3 separate regions of the Homo sapiens genome follow, and regions 1 and 2 are each linked to region 3. Evidence: promoter capture Hi-C in 16 types of primary human blood cells and fetal thymus (Javierre and others, 2016). All regions are on one chromosome and are shown on one strand. The core of a region is centred on a gene start or on the middle of the fragment in contact, and the rest is flanking DNA. Distances in the headings are between cores, read along the strand shown. Region 1 has its middle 4.3 kb from the start of AQP10. Region 2 overlaps ATP8B2 (ATPase phospholipid transporting 8B2). Region 3 holds the start of TDRD10 (tudor domain containing 10).

Region 1 (3,936 bases), core at 408-2,907, 190 kb before region 3:
TTTTTAGCAGAGATGAGGTTTCTCCATGTTGGTCAGACTGGTCTCGAACTCCCGACCTCAGGTGATCCGCCCACCTCAGCCTCCCAAAGTGCTGGGATTACAGGCATGAGCCACCATGCCCGGCCTCCTTCTTGTCTTGTATGTCCTTAGCAGCTTGACCTTGTAACCATGTGGCCATGCTTTCTCTTTTCATAATGGCAGCCCTGGTTTAAAGTCCAATTCCCAGTTTAGGGGATGATCCTTATCTTCTGTCTGTCTGTGTATTTATATGTATTATGTGTGTAATGTTTATATATGGAAAAGCTTTAATTAATTGGTTTAACAATAAGAATTGCTTAAATCAAACATTTTATCAGAAAAGTAAAAAGTGGAATACCCTTTATTTAGTTCATGTGACTTAAGTAATCTTTGGGAAATAAATACAGTTTTAAAGATTATTGGTAAAATAAAAAATCTTCAAAAATGTAAACATTTTGTCCGGGTGCGGTGGCTCATGCTTGTAATCTCAGCACTTTGGGAGGCCAAGGCGGGCAGATCATTTGAGCTCAGGATTTCGAGACCAGCCTGGCCAACATGGTGAAACCCCATCTCTACTAAAAATACAAAAATTAGGTGTAGTGGTGCAAGCCTGTAGTCCCAGCTACTTGGGAGGCTGAGGGAGGAGAATTGCTTGAACCCGGGAGGCAGAGGCTGCAGTGAGCCGAGATTGAGCGACTGCACTCCAGCCTGGGTGATGGAGCGAGACTCTGACTAAAAAGAAACAAACAAACAAACAAAAAAAAATGTAAACATTTGGTCTAAATTATACAGGTCAGATATTAAGTTTGCTAAATTCTTTAAGGTCATAAGCTGCTTCTTTGACTATTAAAAATTGTTCAATTTTAGGCTGGGTGCAGTAGCTCACGCCTGTAATTCCAGCACTTTGGGAGGCTGAGGCAGGCAGATCACAAGGTCAGGAGTTCAAGACTAACCTGGCCAACATGGTGAAACCCCATCTCTACTAAAAATACCAAAAAATTAGCCAGGCATGGTGGTGCGCACCTGTAATTCCAGCTACTCAGGAGGCTGAGGCAGTAGAATCACTTGAACCCAGGAGGCAGAGGTTGCAGTGAGCCGAGATCATGCCATTGCACTCCAGCCTGGGCAACAGAGGGAGACTCTGTCTTAAAAAAACAAAAAAACCCAAAAAACAAAAAACAACAACAACAAAAAAAATTGTTCAGTTTATCTACTTTGGAGCATTAGATTAAATGTGTTATTGGTACATGTTCCAAAATTATGAGAAATTCCTATAATTCTAATATGACTTAGCGTATGTTATTAATAATTGTTACATAAAATTTTGTATGCAACAGAAGTAACCAAAATTTCCTAGTTAATTGTGGCTTTACTAGTGGCTGTCCTAAGACTTTTTTTTTTTTTTTTTTGAGACAGATTCTTGCTCTGTCACCCAGGCTGGAGTGCAGTGGCACGATCTCAGCTCACTGCAACCTCTGCCTCCTGGGTTCAAGCACTTCCTCTGCTTCAGCCTCCTGAGTAGCTGGGATTATGGGCACCTGCCCTATGCGGCTAATTTTTGGATTTTTGGTGGTGACGGGGTTTCACCATGTTGGCCAGGCTGGTCTCAAACTCCTGACCTCAAATGTTCCACCTGCCTCCGCCTCCCAAAGTGCTGGGATTACAGATGTGAACCACTGCACCTGGCCCTAAGACTTTTTATCATCCACAGACAATTGTTGTCTTGTTTTGATCTTCTTTAGAAGGTAGTTTATAATCAGCCATAGGACTTTAACAGGTGCACTTAAATGCAGGTTTCTGATAACTTTGGAGATTGTGACATTAGAATAGAGGAAACAACTTTCAGAACTCTCATGGGGAGCTGAAATGTTCATAGATATCAAACAAAAGTTAACTGCATAAACTAAAGAAGACTAAAGCAATCTTTTTGCCTTTGCTTAAAACATTGCTGATCCTTTGTTTTATTTTTTAGAGTCAAGGCAACTTTTCTTTTCAGATATTTACAGCTTTTAATAATCGAGTAAAGTATACTCCTGTGAACAAAATTTGGAGTATATGCATCTCTCTACTTGATTTCTCCAGAATTTGGAAATTATTTGTGTGTATTCTTAATTTATGGCAATGCAGTTATTTGCATAAGGGTAATAAGAATCTGTTTTCTTTTGCAACAGGACACAATTGGAGAAATTGTTTATTTTATGAAGGGTTTGACTGGAATGGTGTGCTTTCCATTAAGGAATCAAACTTGACTTGTAAAGCCTATAAAAGCCACTTAGCGACCTGGGCTCATAACCTTGCCTACACAGTCCCTGTACAGGGTTTCTGACCTGTGGTAAGTAAAGAATGTCACCTTCTAAAAGGTCCAGGAGCCCCAAGTTATCTGGGGACCTCAAAAGGAGAGGAAGAATTTACCCAACTCAAAGGTATTTGAGGGCACAAACCCATGGCAGGGCTCAGCTTTAAAAAGTCTTATCCAAGATTCTTTCTATGGAACAGAGTTCCATCAAAGCCAATTTTAAAAGCCTACGTGAAAAATAATTATTCTTGCTGCACTTTATACAATCATCAGGCCAAGTATAATAAAGCACATTGGTCTTACCATAAAAATGGTCTTTCATAAAAATGGGAAACTGGAGAGAGAAAAATTATGTTTCAAGAACTATGATACACTTGTTATTAAATTCCAGTCTCATCAGTTGTCTTTAAGTTTGTTTCTGCAATTTAGGCTAACCCTGCTTAGTCCTGTGAACCAACCAGTGGCCTCTGACTGCTGCTCAGAAGAAACAAGAGGGATGGGTAATGTAAAAATCTGCATCAATATTCTAATTCTGGGCATGTACTGGAATCATCTAGCAACCTCATATCAGCGTGGTTCCAACAGTTCCTCAGTTCATGGAAAGCCTTCTAGTTTAGTTTACTTGGGATAATTTTACTTATTTTGCTTTATGGTTGTGGAATGTATAGCTGTTGTAATCTTTGTATAGGAATGGAGGACAAGCTTACTGAATGTTTCCTTAAACTGAACACTTATGAATCTTCCAGAGTATCACCTTTTGTCAGAACTCATGAGTTATGAATGGCCCTCAAGATACCAATGCTTTTTCTTCCCTTCCCTTCCCTTCCCTTCTTTTCTTTTCTTTCAGATGGAGTTTCATTCTTTCAGGCTGGAGTGCAATGGCACAGTCTTGGCTCACTGCAACCTCCGCCTCCCAGGTTCAAGAGATTCTCCTGCCTCAGCCTCCTGAGTAGCTAGGGTTACAGGCACCCGCCACCACATCTGGCTATTTTTTTTGTATTTTTTAGTAGAGACAGTGTTGCACCATGTTGGCCAGGCTGGTCTGAACTCCTGACCTCAGGTGATCCGCCTGCCTCAGCCTCCCAAAGTGTTGGGATTACAGGCATGAGCCATCCCGCCTGGCCCATACCAACACTTTCCAACTGAGCTCCTCTCTACCACGAATATGAGAGATTCTAAGAGTTAGGCAAAAATATCATCGCCCCTATTCATCCTGAAGAACTTACAGAAGATGGACCTTCGTCCCTCTGCAACCCTTAGGATTAGTGCTTCTCTTATAAAAGGAAGGGGGGAAATGTCAGAGGCACGTGAACCAGAGCAAGTCTATTTTGAACAAGAGCTGAGTAAAATGAGAATGAGACTTACTGGGCTGCATTCCCAGATGGTTAAAGCATTCTAAGTTACAGAATGAGATAGGAGGTTGCCATAAGATACAGGTCATGGCCGGGCATGGTGGCTCATGCCATGACAGTTTATAAATGCCATGACAATGACAGGAAGTTACCCTATATGGTCTAAAAAGGGGAGGCATGAATAATCCACCTCTTGTTTAGCATATCATCAAGAAACAACCATAAACATGGGCAACCAGCAGCCCTCGGGGCTGCTCTGTCTATGGAGTA
Region 2 (3,777 bases), core at 924-3,423, 160 kb before region 3:
CTGGTGCTGGCCTACAAGGATCTGGATGAAGAGTACTACGAGGAGTGGGCTGAGCGACGCCTCCAGGCCAGCCTGGCCCAGGACAGCCGGGAGGACAGGCTGGCTAGCATCTATGAGGAGGTTGAGAACAACATGATGGTACGGGCTGCGGGACGGGCCAAGGATGGGCACGGAGGGCTCATGCCTGCAATTCTTGTGCCAGGAATCCTTGTGGTATTTTCAGCTGCTGGGTGCAACGGCCATTGAGGACAAACTTCAGCAAGGGGTTCCAGAGACCATTGCCCTCCTGACACTGGCCAACATCAAGATTTGGGTGCTAACCGGAGACAAGCAAGGTGAGAGCCCAGCAGGGCAGAGCCAGTTGCAACTGACAGTAGCCCTGTTGGACCCTTGCATGGAGCCGAGGACATCAGGCAGGCAAGTGTGCTGACCTTGTTGGGTGCCTGTCCGTAGCTCCTGCGTTCTCTCTTGGTAGAGACGGCTGTGAACATCGGCTATTCCTGCAAGATGCTGACGGATGACATGACTGAGGTTTTCATAGTCACTGGCCATACTGTCCTGGAGGTGCGGGAGGAGCTCAGGTAAACAAGAAGCCCAGGGGAGGCGGTGCTGTGCGTTGTGCCCAGGGCTCAGGTGGGGGTTTCTGGACCATTTAGACTTGAATCCCTGCTCCCCACTGCCGTTCTGGAAGACCACAACCGTATCATTTCCACCTCGACAGGAAAGCCCGGGAGAAGATGATGGACTCATCCCGCTCCGTAGGCAACGGCTTCACCTATCAGGACAAGCTTTCTTCTTCCAAGCTAACTTCTGTCCTGGAGGCCGTTGCTGGGGAGTACGCCCTGGTCATAAATGGTCACAGCCTGGTAGGCATCGCTATCCTTAGCTTGGGCAGTATCTTTCCAGTGAGCACTTCTGTCCAGGGCTTTTATATCTTGTTCTAATTTCCCCTGATTTCAGAGAAGACTGGTCTCAAAGGGGACTGGGAGGAGCTGAGACTCCCAGGTGTCTCCTGGAAAGACTGGCTCTCTCAGGTTTCTCTGTGCTCCAGGCCCACGCACTGGAGGCAGACATGGAGCTGGAGTTTCTGGAGACAGCGTGTGCCTGCAAAGCTGTCATCTGCTGCCGGGTGACCCCCTTGCAGAAGGCACAGGTGGTAGAACTGGTCAAGAAGTACAAGAAGGCTGTGACGCTTGCCATTGGAGACGGAGCCAATGATGTCAGCATGATCAAAAGTGAGTGTGGGCTGTGCAGGTGTGTAGGCTGGGCTTGAGGCTGGGGAGGGGCCCACTGAGGTCTCTGGACTGCAGAAGAATGACGGGAAGGGGGTTGTAACTTGGTAGGCTCTAAAGTGTGTGGCCGGTGGCCATCTTCACCCTCTTGTCATCTCTTGTCTCTGCAGCGGCTCACATTGGTGTGGGGATCAGTGGGCAGGAAGGGATCCAGGCTGTCTTGGCCTCCGATTACTCCTTCTCCCAGTTCAAGTTCCTGCAGCGCCTCCTGCTGGTGCATGGGCGCTGGTCCTACCTGCGAATGTGCAAGTTTCTTTGCTATTTCTTCTACAAAAACTTTGCTTTCACCATGGTCCACTTCTGGTTTGGCTTCTTCTGTGGCTTCTCAGCCCAGGTAATAAATGTTCCCAGTCCACTGTTGTGCAAATCTGTAAACCTGAGGGCAGAGGTTCTGTCTTGTTTATCACTCAGTCCCCCAGGGCCTAGCTATTTTCTGGTACATACTCTTAAAAAATGCTTATTAAAGGAGGAGAGAAGGAGCCTCAGAAAATTTCTTAGGGTTCTCTGTATGTGACATCAGCTGTCTTCCTGTGCCTGATGTGTAGCAAAGAAAGGTTGCATGCTCCCTTGCTCCCTGTTCTCTTCCAGACCGTCTATGACCAGTATTTCATCACCCTGTATAACATCGTGTACACCTCCCTGCCAGTCCTGGCTATGGGGGTCTTTGATCAGGTATGGGGGAGTTTGATGATCAGATGGGATGCGGGGAAGGTCACTGCTTGAAGGAGTCACATAGACGTGGTGTGTGACACTTGTGCCCATTTCCTGTGGCCACTGGGAAGGCAGTTCTTTCAGCCGGGGAAGGTGTGGCTGGTTCTCCCTCCTGGCTGCAGCTGATCTAGAACTCTCTTGGGTTGCTGAACTAAGTTAGTCTGGGGGTAGCTGGCTTGAGGTTGGTTCTAGCTGCCAAAGACTTTGGAAAGGAGGAGGCAGGGACAGAGTCAGAGTCTGCCCTTGGTCATCCAGGGTCAAAACGGCAACCTCTGAGGCCCCCTATGCTACATGGTCCTCCCACACAGGATGTCCCCGAGCAGCGGAGCATGGAGTACCCTAAGCTGTATGAGCCGGGCCAGCTGAACCTTCTCTTCAACAAGCGGGAGTTCTTCATCTGCATCGCCCAGGGCATCTACACCTCCGTGCTCATGTTCTTCATTCCCTATGGGGTGTTTGCTGATGCCACCCGGGATGATGGCACTCAGCTGGCTGACTACCAGTCCTTTGCAGTCACTGTGGCCACATCCTTGGTCATTGTGGTTAGCGTGCAGGTATGAGGCCATCCAGGAACTCCCCTCTTCTCTGGAAGGAGTGAGCCTTCTGTCCCTGGGGCTGCCCTGGGCACCACAGTTCTGTTTCTGGGGGAAGGGGCTTTTAGGGCGTGCGCCTGCCTGACTATGCCTACTTTCTGCAGATTGGGCTCGACACAGGCTACTGGACGGCCATCAACCACTTCTTCATCTGGGGAAGCCTTGCTGTTTACTTTGCCATCCTCTTTGCCATGCACAGCAATGGGCTCTTCGACATGTTTCCCAACCAGTTCCGGTTTGTGGGTAAGTCCCCGTGGCCTCCTTGAATCGGTGAGGAATCACAGCTGTTCTGGGACTAACAGGACCATCAGCTAATCTGCACATTCAACATTTCTTATGTGCCAAGTATTCTGTTTATTTTATTTATTTATTTATTTATTTTCGAGAAGGAGTCTTGCCCAGGCTGGAGTGCAGTGGTGCGATCTCGGCTCACTGCAGCCTTCGACTCACTGCAGCCTCTGCCTCCCGGGTTCAAGCGATTCTCATGCCTCAGCCTCCTGAGTAGCTGGGATTACAGGCACACGCCACCAAGCCTGGCTAATTTTTGTATTTTTAGTAGAGATAGGGTTTCACCATGTTGGCCAGGCTGGTCTTGAACTCCTGACCTCAGGTGATCCACTCACCTCGGCCTCCCAAAGTGCTGGGATTACAGGTGTGAGCCACCGTGCCCAGCTAGCACAGAGAAATCTGAATAAAGGGAAAGGGAGCCTGCCATGTGGCTCTCTGGGAACTGTCAATCCAGGAAGAGGAAACAGCAATATAAAGGCCTTCAGCCCTGGCCTGGGAGGAGGTCTTCTGCACGTGGAGCTGGGGAGGAGTGGAGGAAATGAGTTGGAGGGTGGGGGTGTGGAATGAGTCAGGATTATTTAAGCCCTTATGGGTCAGAGGAAGAACTTTGAGTTTTTGAATTTTAATCTAAATGTGAGAGGAAGCCATTGGAGGGCTTTGAGCAGAGAAATACCAGAAGCTTACTTATGTTTTTAAAGGGCCGCTCTTACAGTTTCGTGGATAATAAAGTGTAGGGGGCAAGGGTGGAAATGGGAGACTAGGAGGTGAGAGCAGTCACCAGGTGAGCCTAATGAGGGCTCGGAATAGAGTAAAAGGCCGTGAGATTCCAGAGATGTTTTGAAAATGGAAACAACAGGCCGGGCGCGGTGGCTCAAGCCTATAATCCCAGTACT
Region 3 (3,847 bases), core at 1,312-3,811:
GTCAGTCAGTCATCCACCAGCACTGGCTAGGCACTGTGAAGGAGTCAAAATAAACCCAAGACATGCTTCCTGTCCTCAAGGAGTGGATCACAGCTCCAAAGACACAGGCTTCATAGATGAGAAGTAGGTCAGTACTAAACAGTATTGTAGGTGTTCTACGTTCAATAATTCACAGGCAAACTGACTGTCACAGGCTACAGACCAGATAGGGTTTTGATCCCTATCTGGGATCCCCTATTTTGTGTCAGAAAGCATCCATCTTTCCAAAAATAGAAGGCACCTGAGGAGGTGGTGTGTGACAACATGGGTGACAACACCAGAGGGTAGGGGACCCTTCTCAGGAAGGAAGCTCCAGGCCTTGCTCCACAACCTCTGTTACATTCTCCAAAGAGTTTAGAAGTAACACTGGAGTTGGTGAGAATTCAGATACATGAGGAGAAGCGAAGAGGAGGAAACAGCCTGGAAATAGCCTCAGAAACCTCAGACACCCAGAAGTGACAACCATAAAAATAACCAGACAACCACTGCAAGGGACTGTGACTGCGACTGCCATTCACTTAATCCATTTTTCTTGACTACCCACCATGTGTACCGCATTTGCAAGATACAGTGAGCCCTTGGCTTCAAGGTGCTTGTGATCTAGTCACACAGTCAGGTGGACCACTGAATAACATATGAGCTGGGTCCCCGTCCATCTTTACACAGCTCTCCACTCAGTGCCTGGCTCAGGGTGGGCATGCTGTATTTACAGCATGAAAAAATGAATGGAAGAATGAACAGAAGTGCCCAATGCAGACATACACAGCATGTGTTATGGGCTCTTGACTTCAACCAGGGAGGTAGCATGTTTGAAGCCTGGGCAAGAGAAAATTAAAGCTCCCATGCATGTTAGGAAGTGATTGCCTGGACCGGAGTCTGAAATCTCGATTTGAGCTCTTCTCTCTCCCCCTTTCACATCGGAGAGAAGATAAAAACAACCAGATCGGACCAACTCATCTCAGCAAGAATGGAGGGAGTCCCTTCCTATGTTCACACTCCTTTTCTTAACTTTTCCACATTGGACAGCACCCAGAAAACCTCCAGTGTGTCCGTCGCAGGAAACACCCTCTCTTCTCATCTGTAATTTCCTTGAGAGCATTTCCTTGTCATATTCTGTATCCTCCACAGCCCTTAATGCCCTGTGCTCCTTTCCTCATATGGCTGCTGCGCAACAAATGCCCATGGAATGAATGAAAGGGCAGCAGTCTTGGAGATTTGCTGAACCTCCGAGGAGCCCTTTACTCGGTGGAACCGCAGAAAATGATGGAACTTCCAAATCAGTGGAGAAGACTGTTGGTTAAACCATTTCCTGAAGCTTTGAAATGCATATCTACACACTTGAGAGGTTACCATTCCTTATGCTCAAGAAGCATAAAAGTCATACACAAGCCTAGCTTTGCAATTCCCCTGAATATCAAAATTAAAATGAACCACATCTATAAAGGGGTCAAATGTAACCAAACAGGAATATCTCATTCAACGACTCTTCTAAACTGCTAACAAAATTCAATGGCTAGTACATTTCTGCAAAACTCCCCACCTCTAAAATAAGAGTTTTTCAAGAATTAAAAAACAGTCTAAGAATTTTAAATGGTCAGGAATTCCCAAATGGTGGAGGGAGAAAGGACCTTAGGAAACCTATCCTCACTGCCTCTTAGGTCTAAAGAAGCCTAGGGCTTAGCAGGCGCCCAGGGCTCCCCTTCGACTGAGAGGTGGTCCAAGGGAGGCTGTATTCTTACCGTCTCTTGCTGCTTAATAATCTTGCCCTTGTCCAGCTCGGGCCCCAGGGAGGAAGGGGAAGAGGACGCGGAGGAAGAGGAGCTGGAGCTGGAGCTACTGCTGCTGGGGTAGTTGCTCTTCCCGTTCTTCTCCTGAGTGTCCACCTTGATGAGCCTGTTGATGTAGGTGCTGCAGCCCGAGCTCTTGGTTGCACCCCGGTGGGGCTCCTCCTCCGTGGCCCGGGAGTTTTTGCGGCCCTTGCCCGCGGCGGCCTGAATCAGACCCTGCAGGCTGTCGCGGGACAGCCGGCTGTCCTTGGGGCCGACGCCGGCCCTGCCGCTCCCCAGCTCGGCCGCCGAGTTCTTGCGGCCCTTGCCAGGACCCGGCCCAGCGCCGCCCGCCTCCGAGTTCTTGCGCAATTTGCCGCCGCCGCCCCCGGGCTTGGCCCGCTCCGACACGGTCTTCAGGTTCAGGGGGAACTCCTTGAACCACTTGGCCGCCATGAGGGGGCCCCGGCCGGCTCGGCCCAGGAGCGTCGGGGCCGTGGAGCAGGCGAGCGAGGAAGCCCAGCCCAGACACGCAGAGGCGCCAGGGGTCGGGGACCACTGCATTCCCCGTGACTGGGGCGCTGGAGGCCGCGGCGAGGCCCCGCGACGGCTGCTCCGTGCGCCCCCGGCCGGCCGTCGCCCACGCCCGGCAGGGTGGGGTTCTCACGGCTCGGGGCGCCGAGCGGGCGGGCGCTAGCCTCTGCTCCGGACACGGCAGGCGACAGGCACGACGCGCGGGGGGCCCCGCCCGGGCTCGTCTTCAACGCCTGCCCGGCCCGAGGACACCGTGGCTCTCGGAGGCGGCGGGCGCCGGGGGCTTCCCCCTGCTCTTTCCTCCTGCGGTGGGAGAGGCCAGGCCCACGGAAGCCCCCTGCGGCCCAGCCCACGCTCCCAGGGACCAGAGAGGACCGAGCGGAGGCGGCGGGAGTATCCCCGGCGCAGCGACAGACGGTGGACGGACGGCGAGCGGCCCATCAACTCCGCGCGCCCCTCCCCTCCGCGGCTGGCGCCTCCCAGCCCCGCCACCTCCTGCCCAGAGCTGGGGGCGGCGGGGTGAGCGCCATGGCAGAGGCGGGTCGGGCTGCGAGCTCTGGAGAAAGGGGCGGCGGCCGCACGTGCGGATCGGCCGCGCCCCACTGAGCAGAGAGCCCCCTTCTGCCGCCGACAGCCCGCGTCTGCACCGAGCCGGTCTCGGCCGGGCGCTGCCTTCACACGCGCCCAGGAGTGTCACGTGCGCCGCTCACCCCCGGGAAGGAAGCCCCTCGCCCACCCACTCCGCTCTACTCCACTCTTTCTGCAGACGTTATTTTTGGCGGTAGGGCAGAGGTTGCGGCCCGAGGTCCGGGCGCAGGGACAACGGTCGCCAGCTCCTGCGCTAGTTCCGTTACTCTTCGGTGGCACACGGTCCTGGGCAGCGCGAGGCTCTTCCCGCCGTGGCCGCCGGGGATTGGCTGCCGGCAAGCCCCGCCCCGTGCCCCCGGGCTCAGAGGGGGCGGAGCGCGGAGGGAGAAGGCGCGAAGGCTGGGCGTCGCGATCGCAGGTGCACGCGCGTGGCCCGCGAGACGAGGTATGGCTTGTCGGCCCCAGGTCCCGGGATGCCAGGCGAGGGTTGGGAGGGAGGGGCGTCGGCAGGCAGCCATGGGAAACGCCCTCGTCCCGACTGATGGGGGAAAGGGGTCGCTGTTCCCGCGGGGCCGTCGCTCGCTCGCGCCGGTTGGGAGCGGCCCTCCTAGTCTGGATTTGTGCGGGCGGGGAGTGCCGTGTGCAGAACTGTGGCCACTTTAAGGGAAAAGACGCCTCTGCCATTCCTCCCTCCCTTCGAAGCCCTTTAAAAGCTTTCTGAGGCCGGGCGCGGTGGCTCACGACTGTAATCCCAGCACTTTGGGAGGCCGAGGCGGGCAGATCACCTGAGATCAAGAGTTCGAGACCAGCCTGGCCAACATGGTGAAACCTGGTCTCTACTAAAAATACAAAAATTAGCCGGGCGTGGTGGTGCGCGCCTATGGTTGCAGCTACTCAGGAGGCTGAGGCAGGAGAATCGC

Evidence for each region. Contacts are between HindIII fragments. The CHiCAGO score rates a contact against its expected background, and 5 or more counts as called.
Region 1: a contact is called between a fragment that was not itself captured here and the fragment with the promoter of TDRD10 in region 3, in 1 of 17 cell types (M2 macrophages). The highest score is 5.2, in M2 macrophages.
Region 2: a fragment that was not itself captured here is called in contact with the fragment with the promoter of TDRD10 in region 3 in 1 of 17 cell types (endothelial precursors); the score reaches 5.7 in endothelial precursors.

The regions. Positions count from the first base shown.
Region 1 is chr1:154,314,837-154,318,772 of GRCh38, forward strand. No RefSeq gene overlaps it. Among named protein-coding and RNA genes, the nearest start is that of AQP10, 4.3 kb to the right of the region's middle. The HindIII fragment of the contact is 2,713 bases long and covers 302-3,014 here.
Region 2 is chr1:154,343,920-154,347,696 of GRCh38, forward strand. ATP8B2 (ATPase phospholipid transporting 8B2) reads left to right here. Exons shown (of 28, transcript NM_001370597.1): 18 at 1-138; 19 at 224-335; 20 at 476-581; 21 at 722-866; 22 at 1,052-1,235; 23 at 1,403-1,626; 24 at 1,881-1,964; 25 at 2,312-2,557; 26 at 2,701-2,839. Among named protein-coding and RNA genes, the nearest start is that of ATP8B2, 20 kb to the left of the region's middle. The HindIII fragment of the contact is 2,775 bases long and covers 787-3,561 here.
Region 3 is chr1:154,499,658-154,503,504 of GRCh38, forward strand. TDRD10 (tudor domain containing 10) reads left to right here and starts at 2,562. Exons shown (of 13, transcript NM_182499.4): 1 at 2,562-3,372. It overlaps SHE (Src homology 2 domain containing E), which reads right to left and starts at 2,755. Exons shown (of 6, transcript NM_001010846.3): 1 at 1,779-2,755. The coding sequence starts at 2,369. The HindIII fragment of the contact is 2,286 bases long and covers 1,353-3,638 here.